Linked DNA regions of Homo sapiens: region 1 is linked to region 2. Evidence: promoter capture Hi-C in human tissues and cell types (Jung and others, 2019). All regions are on one chromosome and are shown on one strand. Each heading gives the region's core, a stretch centred on a gene start or on the middle of the fragment in contact. The rest is flanking DNA. Distances are from core to core; before and after follow the strand shown.

What was found. The method cuts DNA at HindIII sites, captures the fragments that hold promoters and counts their contacts. A contact is called where the count stands out against the background at its distance.
Region 1: a fragment that was not itself captured here is called in contact with the fragment with the promoter of KIF23 in region 2 in 1 of the 25 tissues and cell types used here (aorta).

Annotation. Positions count from the first base shown.
Region 1 is chr15:67,523,017-67,529,079 of GRCh38, reverse strand. It overlaps C15orf61 (chromosome 15 open reading frame 61), which reads right to left. Exons shown (of 2, transcript NM_001143936.2): 2 at 1-2,662. The coding sequence ends at 2,535. Among named protein-coding and RNA genes, the nearest start is that of IQCH-AS1, 4.2 kb to the right of the region's middle. The HindIII fragment of the contact is 3,545 bases long and covers 1-3,379 here.
Region 2 is chr15:69,410,444-69,416,209 of GRCh38, reverse strand. It overlaps KIF23 (kinesin family member 23), which reads right to left and starts at 1,861. Exons shown (of 24, transcript NM_001367805.3): 1 at 1,734-1,861; 2 at 147-216. The coding sequence starts at 1,744. KIF23-AS1 (KIF23 and PAQR5 antisense RNA 1) reads left to right here and starts at 1,181. Exons shown (of 2, transcript NR_132971.1): 1 at 1,181-2,058. RefSeq lists silencers at 1,462-1,541, 1,572-1,691. The HindIII fragment of the contact is 14,046 bases long and covers 1-5,766 here.

The sequences.
Region 1 (6,063 bases), core at 358-2,857, 1.9 Mb after region 2:
AAATATGACAGAAAAGCTAATCAGTGGTTTCACCAATTAAGAAAACTACTGATATGCAGAAGAGAAGGGCCTCTTCAGCTCCCCACATGCCACTTCAGGGTTAGTGGGCATGTGCTATCAATGCATCTCTCCTTCTTTCTCCATCACCTTATTTTTGAAATTTTTTAATTAATGAAGTCCTTTAAGTATAATGGAGCAGAAGAATGTGGATTATAAAAACAGAGCTTTTGCAGAGACAAAAGTAAAATTGATGTACATTTTCGGGTAGAAATGTCTCTTGTTTCGTTCTTCTCAGATTACAGGTGGAAAAACCAAGACACAAAGGAGGAGAGTTATTAGCCTGAGGTCAAAAAGTAAGACAGCACCAATACTAAAAATAGACTCAGTCTCCTGACTTACACATTTATACTTTCTCCCTTTCAGGCCATAATACTTTGGTGTAATATGCAGCTTTAAAGAAAAAACTTAAACCATTGCTGTTCAATGGGAAGTATTGTTTTCAGACTACAAGTTTACAAGACTTAATAAATCCAATGAATGATATTTAAATTTTTAAACCACGCCTTTACCCATTGTTGAGTTAGTTCATCCTTCACCATGATCAACTCCGTAAGAGCAAGAGGTCTATTGATTTTCATGTAATACAAGAAAATATTACATTTACTTGTTATACAGTGAGCACATCAGACAAGAAATCAAGGCCCTGTTTAATGCTGCAAGCAGCAGAGAATTACAGAGATCAATAGGGTAGTTTGTCAAAGATGTTCTCCAAGGACACTTACCTATCACATATGGGCAAGAAGTCACACTGACTATAGCTATTGAAAAACAGGTAAGCAGAGTCAGCAGTACAAATTATCAGAAATCAAACAGGCCAGTGTGAAAAGAGGTGCAACTCTACTGAAAAGCTGTATTTATAGTCTGGTAATTAAAGACCATTTTATCAGCCTTGTGTTGGGACCAAACCTTTACAGCCACTATTGACAAGACCAGCAGCAATGAATGAGCAGTATTTGACTTAAAACTTATGAGCTATAGTTATTTAACTTTGCCCATTACAGAGGAAATCAGTTCTAGCCTTCCCTGCAAAATGCTAATAGCCAGTTGTTTTATTATTAATGAAGCTTAATGTAACACTATCTCCTTTGTGTAAGCCATTCATTTAACTAGTGTCAAGTATATTCTTCTGGACTAAATATATTGGCATAAGTACTTCTTTGATTAAAGTGTTACTTAGAATTGCTTTTAGACAAGTGAACACCACATATATTTGAAGAACAGTTCACTCTGTAGATCATTTAAAATGACTACCTTTAACGAAGCTAGTTTGTATTACTTCATTATTCTGGTGCCTTCACCTCAGTCACTTCCACTCACTTTCTCTACTGACTTGACATAAGCATCCAAATGTTGAATTTTATAAAATGTTTTGCTACAAAAATGTGTAAGTGTTGCAGAGTATCAGCAACACATTAACATAAAATGATATATAATGTATGTTTGTAATTATGGGAGAGATCATAAATCTTAAACACCCATTGGTTTAGAAATTAAATAGTTCTACTTAGTTCTCCCTAAATTACTCCAAATGTCTGAAATTTACCATTCATCTGGGTATTTTGTGACTACCCCAAGGATACATTTTTTTAAATGACTTGGCTTTCAAAAATGCAATTAAGTTAATAAAATTCAAATGCAAAAGTGCCATTAGGTCTTTAAAATTTCAGCCCACTCCTTATTGCCAATAAGTCTATGGATATGTACCATTTCAGTTAATTGCTTTTATAAACAGTTACCAAATTTATTTTTCTGCATCTTTCTAGAAGATCTTAATTGTTCTTACAGCTTTATAGGAAAGCTGTTTTAACTTTTAATAAGTCTGAGTTTCATTCACCTTGCTACACTTATATTAACCAGTTATTATTACATTTTACAAACGATATGGTTTTGGACTCTTTAAGCAACAAGAAGTTTCAACATTACACTCCAACCCCTCCTCCAGGTAAATGGCACAAGGCCTTTAAAACGTTTCTATTTACAATCCTGGCAGCTGAATGGTTTAGACTTGAGATTACAATTAGATTCTCATCAATTTTGGATTTGCCAATGATGTAATATTTCCATCATACATCCTAATGTCTTCTACTTCTTTTTCCATTGTTACATAAAAGATTTTCCCCCCTTCTCTTTTGTGTGGGCATCTATATTTTCTCTTCAGAGTTGATTTAAATTGTTAATTAACTATAGAATCTATTACATTGTAATCATTTTTTATCTGTAGGTTAACCTAGTTCTAGGGAAAAAATGGTGTGAAGCTTCATGTGTTTGTAGTTCACATCAGCTAAACAGAGTATGTAATATATAACGATGTATAAAAAGCTTCACCTCTTGAGGGCAATGATTCATCTTAAAGAAGCAGATACTGTAGAAAGAAAAAAGTATTTGCAAAAGTTTTATTTTAAAGGATCAAAAATAAATACTGCACATATACACAGAGAAAATCCACTGATATTTATGTTCTTTGACGCACACTTTCAATACATGGCACCTTCATCTTCTTTATTGAGAAAATAAACTGTTATGGGTCCATAACTGGTATGCACAGTCTCTGTGACTCTGGCAAATAACCAGGAGCCAAGTCCATATAATAAAGTTGGAATACCTAGAAAACAAACGAATATGTATAAACATCAATGCTTATTAATCATGCAAGTTACTGATCACGTATAACACTCTTCAGCAATGTTAACAAATTACAATGTGATAAAATATAAAAATATTAATCAACATTGACTCTGATTATCTAAGAGCTCAATTTCATCAACGTGGCACATGATGGCAATCACGTGAGTCCAGAGGTTTTCATACTATAGACAAGGCGGGTATAAATGTTAATTCGAGTACTTCATAAATTCATTACCCTCAAATAATCATGAAGTAATGCTATATTCTTTTCATAAATAAGAAAATGGAGAAGAATACTCATTAATTTAGTTGTAGACGCTCCTGATTATTAGCCTTGAGCTAAAATTACTAAGTTAACACTACTGTTTGTTTGTTTGTTTGTGAGATGGAGTCTCACTCTGTTGGCAGGTTGGAGTGCAGTGGCGCGATCTCGGCTCGCTGCCACCTCCGCCTCCTGGGTTCAAGCGATTCTCCTGCCTCAGCCTCCTGAGTAGCTGGGACTACAGGCGCGCGCCACCACGCTCAGATAATTTTTGTACTTTTTTAGTAGAGATGGGGTTTCACCATGTTGGCCAGGATGGTCTCGATCTCTTGACCTTGTGATCCTGGGCCTAGGCCTCCGAAAGTGCTGGGATTACAGGTGTGAGCCACCGCGCCCGGCCAACATTACTGTTCTTTAAGTTAGTAGTAACACTAATGGTTGAAGTAATTTTTGTACAACTTAAAAGAAGCTCGGTCAAAGAGCTGTCTTTAAAATCTAAAGCAAAACCTAACTCCAAGTAAGATTTCAGTACAACAGGCATGAGAAAAAAAACTATTATTAGCATTTTTTCAATTGATCTGAAAACAACCTCATTTCAACCAATTTGAAATAGATATATAGTAGACTCCAACATGTGTTTCTTCTTTGGAATTGATAAGATTTTGCTGCTTTGAGATTAGTTGCCATTTGTGATACATGAAACTAAACACACTATCCAGAGATATGTATTAAGCACTCACATGCATATAAGACTGTTGGCACAAAACAAACTTTCACAATTCCTATCTTTTTAAAGGTACTTATTTAAAATTAATGACTACTAACATATTAAAAACATATGTAATAAAACCATAGGCACATGAATCAATAACAAATACTGTATGCTCTGGACAAGCATTAATTTTATGCTCTTATGTGGGAAATGGGCAGAAAGTGACACTTTAAAAGGATAGCTGTACATTTGGAAAATCACTTTCTTTCTAGTAATAAAGAACGCGGCTGGGCACTGTGGCTCACGCCTGTAATCCCAGCACTTTGGGAGGCCGAAGCAGGCGGATCACCTGAGGTTGGGAGTTCGAGACCAGCCTGACCAACATGGAGAAACCCCGTCTCTACAAAAAATACAAAATTAGCTGGGCGTGATGGCGCATGCCTATAATCCCAGCCACTCAGGAGGCTGAGGCAGGAGAATTGCTTGAGCCCAGGAGGCAGAGGTTGCACTGAGCCGAGATCACACCACTGCACTCCAGCCTGGCGACAGAGGGAGACTCCATCTCAAAAAAAAAAAAAAAAAACAAACAAAAAAGCAACACATGCTCTGGACTAATCATATTGCTAAATTTTGGTCTTATTTTTCTGCAAGAATATATTTGCTGTGTTAAGCTCTTTTTGAGTGTGTTTGCTGAACCACTTTGTGCTTACTCCCTGAAGCTTCATTCCAGCCACTGTGATGCCAGAGATTAATCAGGAGAAGCATCACATCACTAGCTGGTAATGAGAAGGGGAAAAAAATGCCCATTCAGGCTGGCATCTCTCTATTTTTAGGAATATACTGGGTCACAGTTTGTCACCATCACAGGGTTCCCTGGAACTCCCATGAAACCTTTTATAGTGTATCACCTTCTTTGCCCTGATAATGTCCAAAAGAATCTCTGAATACCTCAAGGGAATGTCATAAAAAAATCCACAAAAACTAGAATAATAAAGCTACTTATAAATCATTTAACCACAAAGAAAAAAAAAGGCAAGTGGCTCAGGGGTGGGAGGTAGAAAAAGAAGAATATGAACAAGCTAGGCAGAAATGAGAGTGAAGTATAGGGAGTAGTTGAAATAAAAAATAAATTTAAAATGCAATATCACAACTTCAAAGCTGAAAATCAATGGAGTGAGGAAGAAAAAAAATAGGCTCTAGAAGCAATTACTAATTTTCTAAGCATACTGAGACTAAAATACATAAAATAGGCCTCTTAAACCAAGGCTAAGTATATAAATTTAAGGAATACCTGGTGACACTGACAATTTTCTTTTATAGTATTTATCATAGTTTTCAGTTAACATATTGATTTAAAAAATTCATACTTTTGAAAAATCACAAATACAGAAATAAACGGTCAATATATTTTCAGCTAAAATCAAGGGCTGATCAAAGATTACTAGCTTAATAACTATATTATGTCTTATTAAAAAATAACCAGCAACCATTAGCAGTGATGCTGTTTGACAGGAGATGGAGTTATGATCTGAGTCAGAAATTCTGTATTTTTTTCCCCTTGCTGTCTGTTTATTTAATGCAGTCAGACTAATACTCAAAATGGGAAGGTTTGCCACCTATATAACTTATATATTACAAAATCTTTGTAGCACACATGCTTTGAAGTCTATAAGATTCTATGAAAAATTCAATTTTTTCTGAAAAATTAAATTTATATCTGAAACATGTAACATCAAAAGAACCTCCAAATCAGTTCTTTGCATAATAATTCACTTTGAGTCAGCTGAACAGTAGGTAAACCACTGTCAAATTAAGCACTTTAAAAAATTAGAATTCCTCAGTAAATCTCATTCATTCCAATGGTAAGTTGCTTTTCTTAAATCTCAATCTACTTCTCAGCAGGATACCTAGACTGGTAAACCATCAGTAAAATGTCAGCTTCCATTGAAGGGAAGACGGAGGAGAAAAGGAGCAAATGGGTAAACAGAAATCTTTATTATTTACAAAATGGAAAAATGAATTTGGAAGGGAAGAAGAGGAACAAAATCCTAAGTATAATATTAATAGGATATGTACTTTATCACCCAGAGAGACGATTGTACCTCACAGAATAGGAAAGGACCTATTATCTAATTCACATCCCCTCTACCTTCAGACAAAAATTAAAAATAAACGTTACCAGATGTGTTCACCACTTTAAAATATTTTTTAATTCCCTTTATCAGTATATCCCAATTTGTATTAAAGCATGCATGAGCAAAAAGTTGTCCTTTTTGCTTAACTTAGAACTCTTACTCCCATTTTAGCAGGATTTTTAGAATGTCCAAAAGACCATACAGACCATTAAATCACTCTCCCACATTAATAAACAAAACAAAACAAAAAACACTACAACTGTTGTTTC
Region 2 (5,766 bases), core at 612-3,111:
AATGTAGTACATCCATTTAACTAAATGTTCTTTGATTATACTTCCACATGTCTTCTTCTTTCCCTTCCAAGCATACACATAAGACAGAAAGGACTGAAGAGATAAGTTTCTTAAACACCACACATAAATTTACAGGGATACCTTACCCCAACTGGGTCTTTAAGGTTCGTTTGGGACCCTTTTTTCACGGTAGGTTTCCGGGGTGTCTTAGCTCTCCTGGTCATAGATTAAAAAATAATAATAACTTTTTTTTCAGTTCAACACGAATACAAAAGCCTCACCTAAAACTTATACAATCTTTCTAGGTTATCTGTAAATTATCCCTTAGCAGTTGCAAAACACTGCATCCCAAATAACATTAATAATCATAGTAGCAGAGTGTTTGTGGCATGCGTAATCCAAAAGTAATTAAAATTTGCTTTAGAATACATTTTTGGTACCAAAGCTACCTACTTATTCTCTGATTAGTTCTATACTTAAAATGGCTTGCATATTTTCTTGAGCAACAATTTAACAGAGGCACTACAAATTATAACTGCCCACACTTTACAGACTGACAAGCGATTAACTTCAATACACTATAAAAATGCACATGGAGGAAACCATTCTTTCGTCAAGGGTTACGCCTGTACTTTCAAGGAACAACCAGTCATTGAATGCTCAAAACATTACTCTTTGTCTCCAAACAAAATCTGGTCCCAAACTGCCAATTTCTTGGTTTCTTAAGTAGGGGCAATCAAAAAGTTATTTTGATTGATTTCACCATTTCTCTAGCATCTCATCTTTTTCCCTTCACATTTATCTATAGGCTAGATATACATTTAACACATTAAAATTAAGTAAGATTATTGGCTTCGACTGTAGTTTAAAAATATTTTTCCAAACATATTCTCAGATGAAACACAAGCAAATTCGTGTTATTCAGTGCAAAATACTTTGTGGTGGGCTTAAGTTAAACTCAACGTATATTTCTTATATATAATTTTTTTCATCTAAAGATTTTGACTTCGGCCTCTTAATAAACAAGTTGTCTTTTGCAAACGACTCCCTAAATGGTAATAAAGCCAATCCTCTCCTTTGCACGACAAATATTTCTTTACCCAGGAATGATGCTGCGCCGAAAATATTAGCTTAGGAATGTGGGCGGAGGTTCTCTGCGGCCACAAAATACAGCAGAAGTAACTGGCCTGTGTAAGCGGATGGGCTCGGCCTCAAGGACAGGGTGCTCGGCTGAAAAAAAAGCTAGCGGCGATCACCGGTGCCAGGGCTCTCCAGAAACGGAGCCCATCTAACCAATGCCCAGCACACTCGCTCTGCTCCACACACGAGACCACCTCCGACCCGCACTAAGTTGGCCAACTGCACTCTGGAGGCGGCGGCAGCCAGCGAGGGAGAAGGGAAAGGCTGTCCCGGGACCCCGAGGAGGACTGCCCCGCCCCCGGGAACCGGGTGCGGCGTAAAACAACCCCGGCTCCGGGCCGACCCTTCCTGGCCCCTTGGAGGCCCAGGCGGGGCGGCGGGGGGCGACGCGGCAGGGGTCTCCGCGCCCAGGCTCCCGCGGAGCGGCCACACGTGGAGGTTCCCACTTTGGGGTCGCGGCCGCAGCAGCACCGGGCGGGATGCTGTCCGCGCTGCCCGCGTACGGCCGCGGCCTGAGTGGAGACGCCTGCCCCCAGCCCCGAGGCCTCGGCCCCCGTCCGCCCTCTCTCCCTGCTCGGCGGCCTCGTACTCACGCTGACTTCATGGCAGCAGGCTCCACGCCGCCCAAACGCGCATGCGGGACGGCTGGCTGGCGAAGACTGCGGGACGTTAGGACCGGCAGCAAGAACTAGAACTTCGCGGCTAAGGCGCGGTGCTCTGCGAAGCCGGCGGCGACGCTAAGAGCCCAGGTGAGCTCCCGCCTGGCGCATTTCAAACGGGCCAATCAGCGCCCGTCCGCAGGGAGAGGCAGGACCTCCGCGGAAGTGACTTCGCTGCCGGAAGTGGCGCTTGTCTCCTAGGCGACCGACGCTGAAAGGGCCGCGGAGTCGCGTGTCAGGGCTGGAGGGAGATCTTGAGGTATGGTATTTAAACTCTTCCGCCTTGCGATGACGAAACTGAGGGTTTCTTTTCCTCCATCACAAGAAGTTCAATGGAAGGGCCTTTCCAGGGTTGATTCAGAGGTCGGAATGTCGTTCTGGTGAAAAGTGTTGTATTCCTGTGCTGTGCCCTGCTCCAAGTCTCAGGCTCCGTCTCTCTGGCTCCCAAGTCACCACATTATCTTGGCGTCTTTTCTCTCTCTGATTCACCTTTCCTGGGTTTCCCTCCAGCTCTGTCCTATATGTACATTATTTTATCAAATCTTTTTTTTTTCCTTTTTTATTTTTTGAGGTGGAGTTGCTCTGTCGCCCAGCCTGGACTGCAGTCTTCAGCTCACTGCAACCTCCACCTCCTAGGTTCAAGCAATTCTCTTGCCTCAGCCTCCCGAGTAGCTGGGATTACAGGCGCGCACCACCACGCCCAGCTAATTTTTGTATTTTTAGTAGAGATGAGGTTTCACCATATTGGCCAGGGTGGTCTAGAACTCCTGACTTAAGGTGATCTGCCTACCTTGGCCTCCCAAAGTGCTGGGATTACAGGCGTGAGCCACTGCGCCCGGCCTGTTTTATCAAATCTTGATTGTGTTTGATCCTGGCCTTACGGAGATGAATAAAATTTGGTCCTTACCCTTAAGGGGCAACCTTTTGAACCTACTCTTGCCTTAGATGAACTGATTCTATATCACTTCTGTCTTTGACCCTAAGCCGATGACTACCAAATACACATCTACACCTGGGCTCTCATGGAACTCTAGCCCCTTCTCAACTTCCTAAAGGACCACAGCACTGGTAAGGATAGTCACAATGTCCTTGGCCAATATTGTTGGTGCTCAGGAAACGACACCCCAGAGTATGGCTCTTTGGCACACTGAGTGCTTTGAACTAAAGAAGACTGAAAGTGCCTCAGAGAAGCCTTAAAAGCAAAGTCTGTCTCTGACTTTCTCCTGCCCTCTTGTCTCCCACCCCTCTGTGTCTCCTAAAGCAAATAATAGAAACCAGAATTTCTGTTCCCCAAGGCGGGTCATGGAAACTAGAACCCCTTTTCTCCCAAGCAAGCCAGAAACATTATTCTAGAAAAACCTAGAAATATTAATCTAGCCTTCCCCCACCTTTTTGTGTAAGAGCTGGCCATAAAGACATTCTTTGATGTACCTTGTCATAAGACCCTCGTTCCAAAAGGGTCTTGCCCTACACTCAGGAAGAAGGAAAGCTGCACAGAGAGGCCAAGAAGAATCTGAACAGACAGGACTTGCTGGATTCCTCCTTCAGTCTGTTACTATTAGATCATACTCCTTTTGTACAATCACATTTCTACACAGCTGTCCATTCTTCATCTCATCTAAGCATAAAAATGGACAGCTTTCCCTGGGTCTTTGGGTCTTCATTTCTGAAGGCACTTACATCCCATAAAACTGTGATTCAATAAGTTATCCATTTATCTTGCTAACCTGTTTTTTGTTATGGTAGTGTCAGCTGTGACCCTTAAGATGGGTAAAGAAAAGTATCACACCTTTTCCACCCCTACATTGCACATTAGGATGGTTCCAACTTTTCCTATTACAGATACAGCTATAGTGAATGAATGTGGAAATTTATACAATGCAGGTAAATATGTAGGAAACATTTCTAGAAACAGAATTGCTGAGTCAAAGAGTATACATATGTGTAACATTTCACAGATATTGCAAATCATTCTCCATAAAAGCTGTCCAAATGTACACTCCCACCAGCCTGTATGAGAGTGCCTATTTCTCCACAATTCTCAAAGTGTTATCAAACTTTTCAGTAGCTACCAATCTATTGATATCTCATATCAATTGGTGAGAAAAAACATGTAGTTAAATTTTTCATTTATTTTCAGATAAATGTTGTCTATTCATATATTTTAGAGCCCTTTTGATTCCTTCTCTATCAACTGTGTTCATATTCTTTGCCTCTTTGTTCTATTGGTTGTTCGTTTTTCTTAATGATCTGTGAAAGTTCTTATATTAAAAAAAAATTGGTCCTCATCCAAAATACGAGTTTAAATACTTTTATTTTTCACATTTTGGTTATTTTTATTTGTATATGTTTTGTGACAGCTTGGAAAAAATTTCAGGTAGACAGATTAATCCGTCTTTTCTTTTATGGCTTCTGTTTTGTGTCATACTGGAAAAATACATCCATTCTGAGTTTTTTATTTTATTTCTCATTTTTTGTTTCCTAGTGCTTTTATTGCTTTGCTTCCTATGTTGAAGTCTTTGAATGATTAGGACTTTGTTGTCAAGCTAGAGTTTGGTATTTTGTTGGTTTGTTTGTTTTGTTTTGTTTTTTGAGACGGAGTCTGTCACGCAGGCTGGAGTGCAGTGGCGCAATCTCGGCTCACTGCAGCTTCCGCCTCCGGGGTTCAAGCAATTCTCCTGCCTCAGCCAGGCTGGTCTTGAACTTCTGACCTCAAGTGATCCACCTGCCTCAGCCTCCCAAAGTGCTAGGATTACAAGTGTGAGCCACCGCACCTGGCCTAGAGTTTGGAATTTTTATCATTTAGGAATTGGGCTTGGTTGCTGACTACTTATATCCTAGTTGCTCTTCAGTTTAGCTTCTACCTCAGACTCCATTGGAACTCTTGTCACCAAAATTACCACTTCCTTGATGCTAAATCTATTTGACTTTTGTCTTACTTGGCTTCTTAACAACACTAAAAAATGTTGCCCATTCCTTTCTTCCCATGCCTTTATTTTTTCTCCTAGCTGTCTAGCCCTTCTTTCTCAGTCTCCTTTGTGAGTTCTTTTTTTCTCCCTTAAATGTTGGGGCTCAGGGTTTAGAGCTGGTCACTAGGTGTGCCTTTTCCCTAGGCACTCTCAAGCACTCATATGGCTTCACATCCCATTCATGTTTGCTCTTCTGAGCTCCAGAGCCATATATCCAGCTGTCTTCTGGATTCTCCACTTCGATATCCCACAAGCATCTCACATCTAACACATTCTAATCTCTTCTCCCAAACTTGCTCCCTCTCAGTGGATGGCATCCACCAAGCCAGAGTCTAAAGCAACATTGTTAGCTTTTCTCTCTTCTTCTGTCTCAATATTCAATCACTAAATCTTAACAGTTCTACCTACTAAGTAGCCAAACCTCCAAACTGCTCCACTTTTCTCTGTCTCCTCAGCCACCATCTTCTCTTGTCTGATAAAGACAGCAGTCTCCTAACAGGCCTCTCTGCTGCCACTTTCCAATTCAGTTTCCATTTTGCTCATCTCTAAATCATGGATCTGATTATGTCACATACCTATATGAAACTCTGCAGTGGTTCCCCATTGTTGGAGACCCACCACAGGGCCCTGAGACGCTTCCTCTGGGGCTCATCACCCATCACTGCCCCCTGTCCCCTCTAGTCATGTTGAACTGCAGTGCCCTGAACACGCTGGGCTCACACGCCATTCTCTGTGCTGTCACGCTCTCCTCCCTCCTTTCCTCTGACAATGCCTTGCCTTCAGTTCTCTGCAGATCTGCCAGCTACCCTGCTGTGGATACTGGGCCCCGTGGTACAGCCCCCACGCCCCCAAAACTGCCCTTTCCCACTCACTGCACCTGTTGACTTGTTTCAGCACTCACATTCCAATTGGCAGTCACTGTTCATTCCTGTCTCCTCTACTGGCTTATCCCCACAGCCTCACTAGATGGCATCGTTGCATGCCCAGTGCCTAGCAGT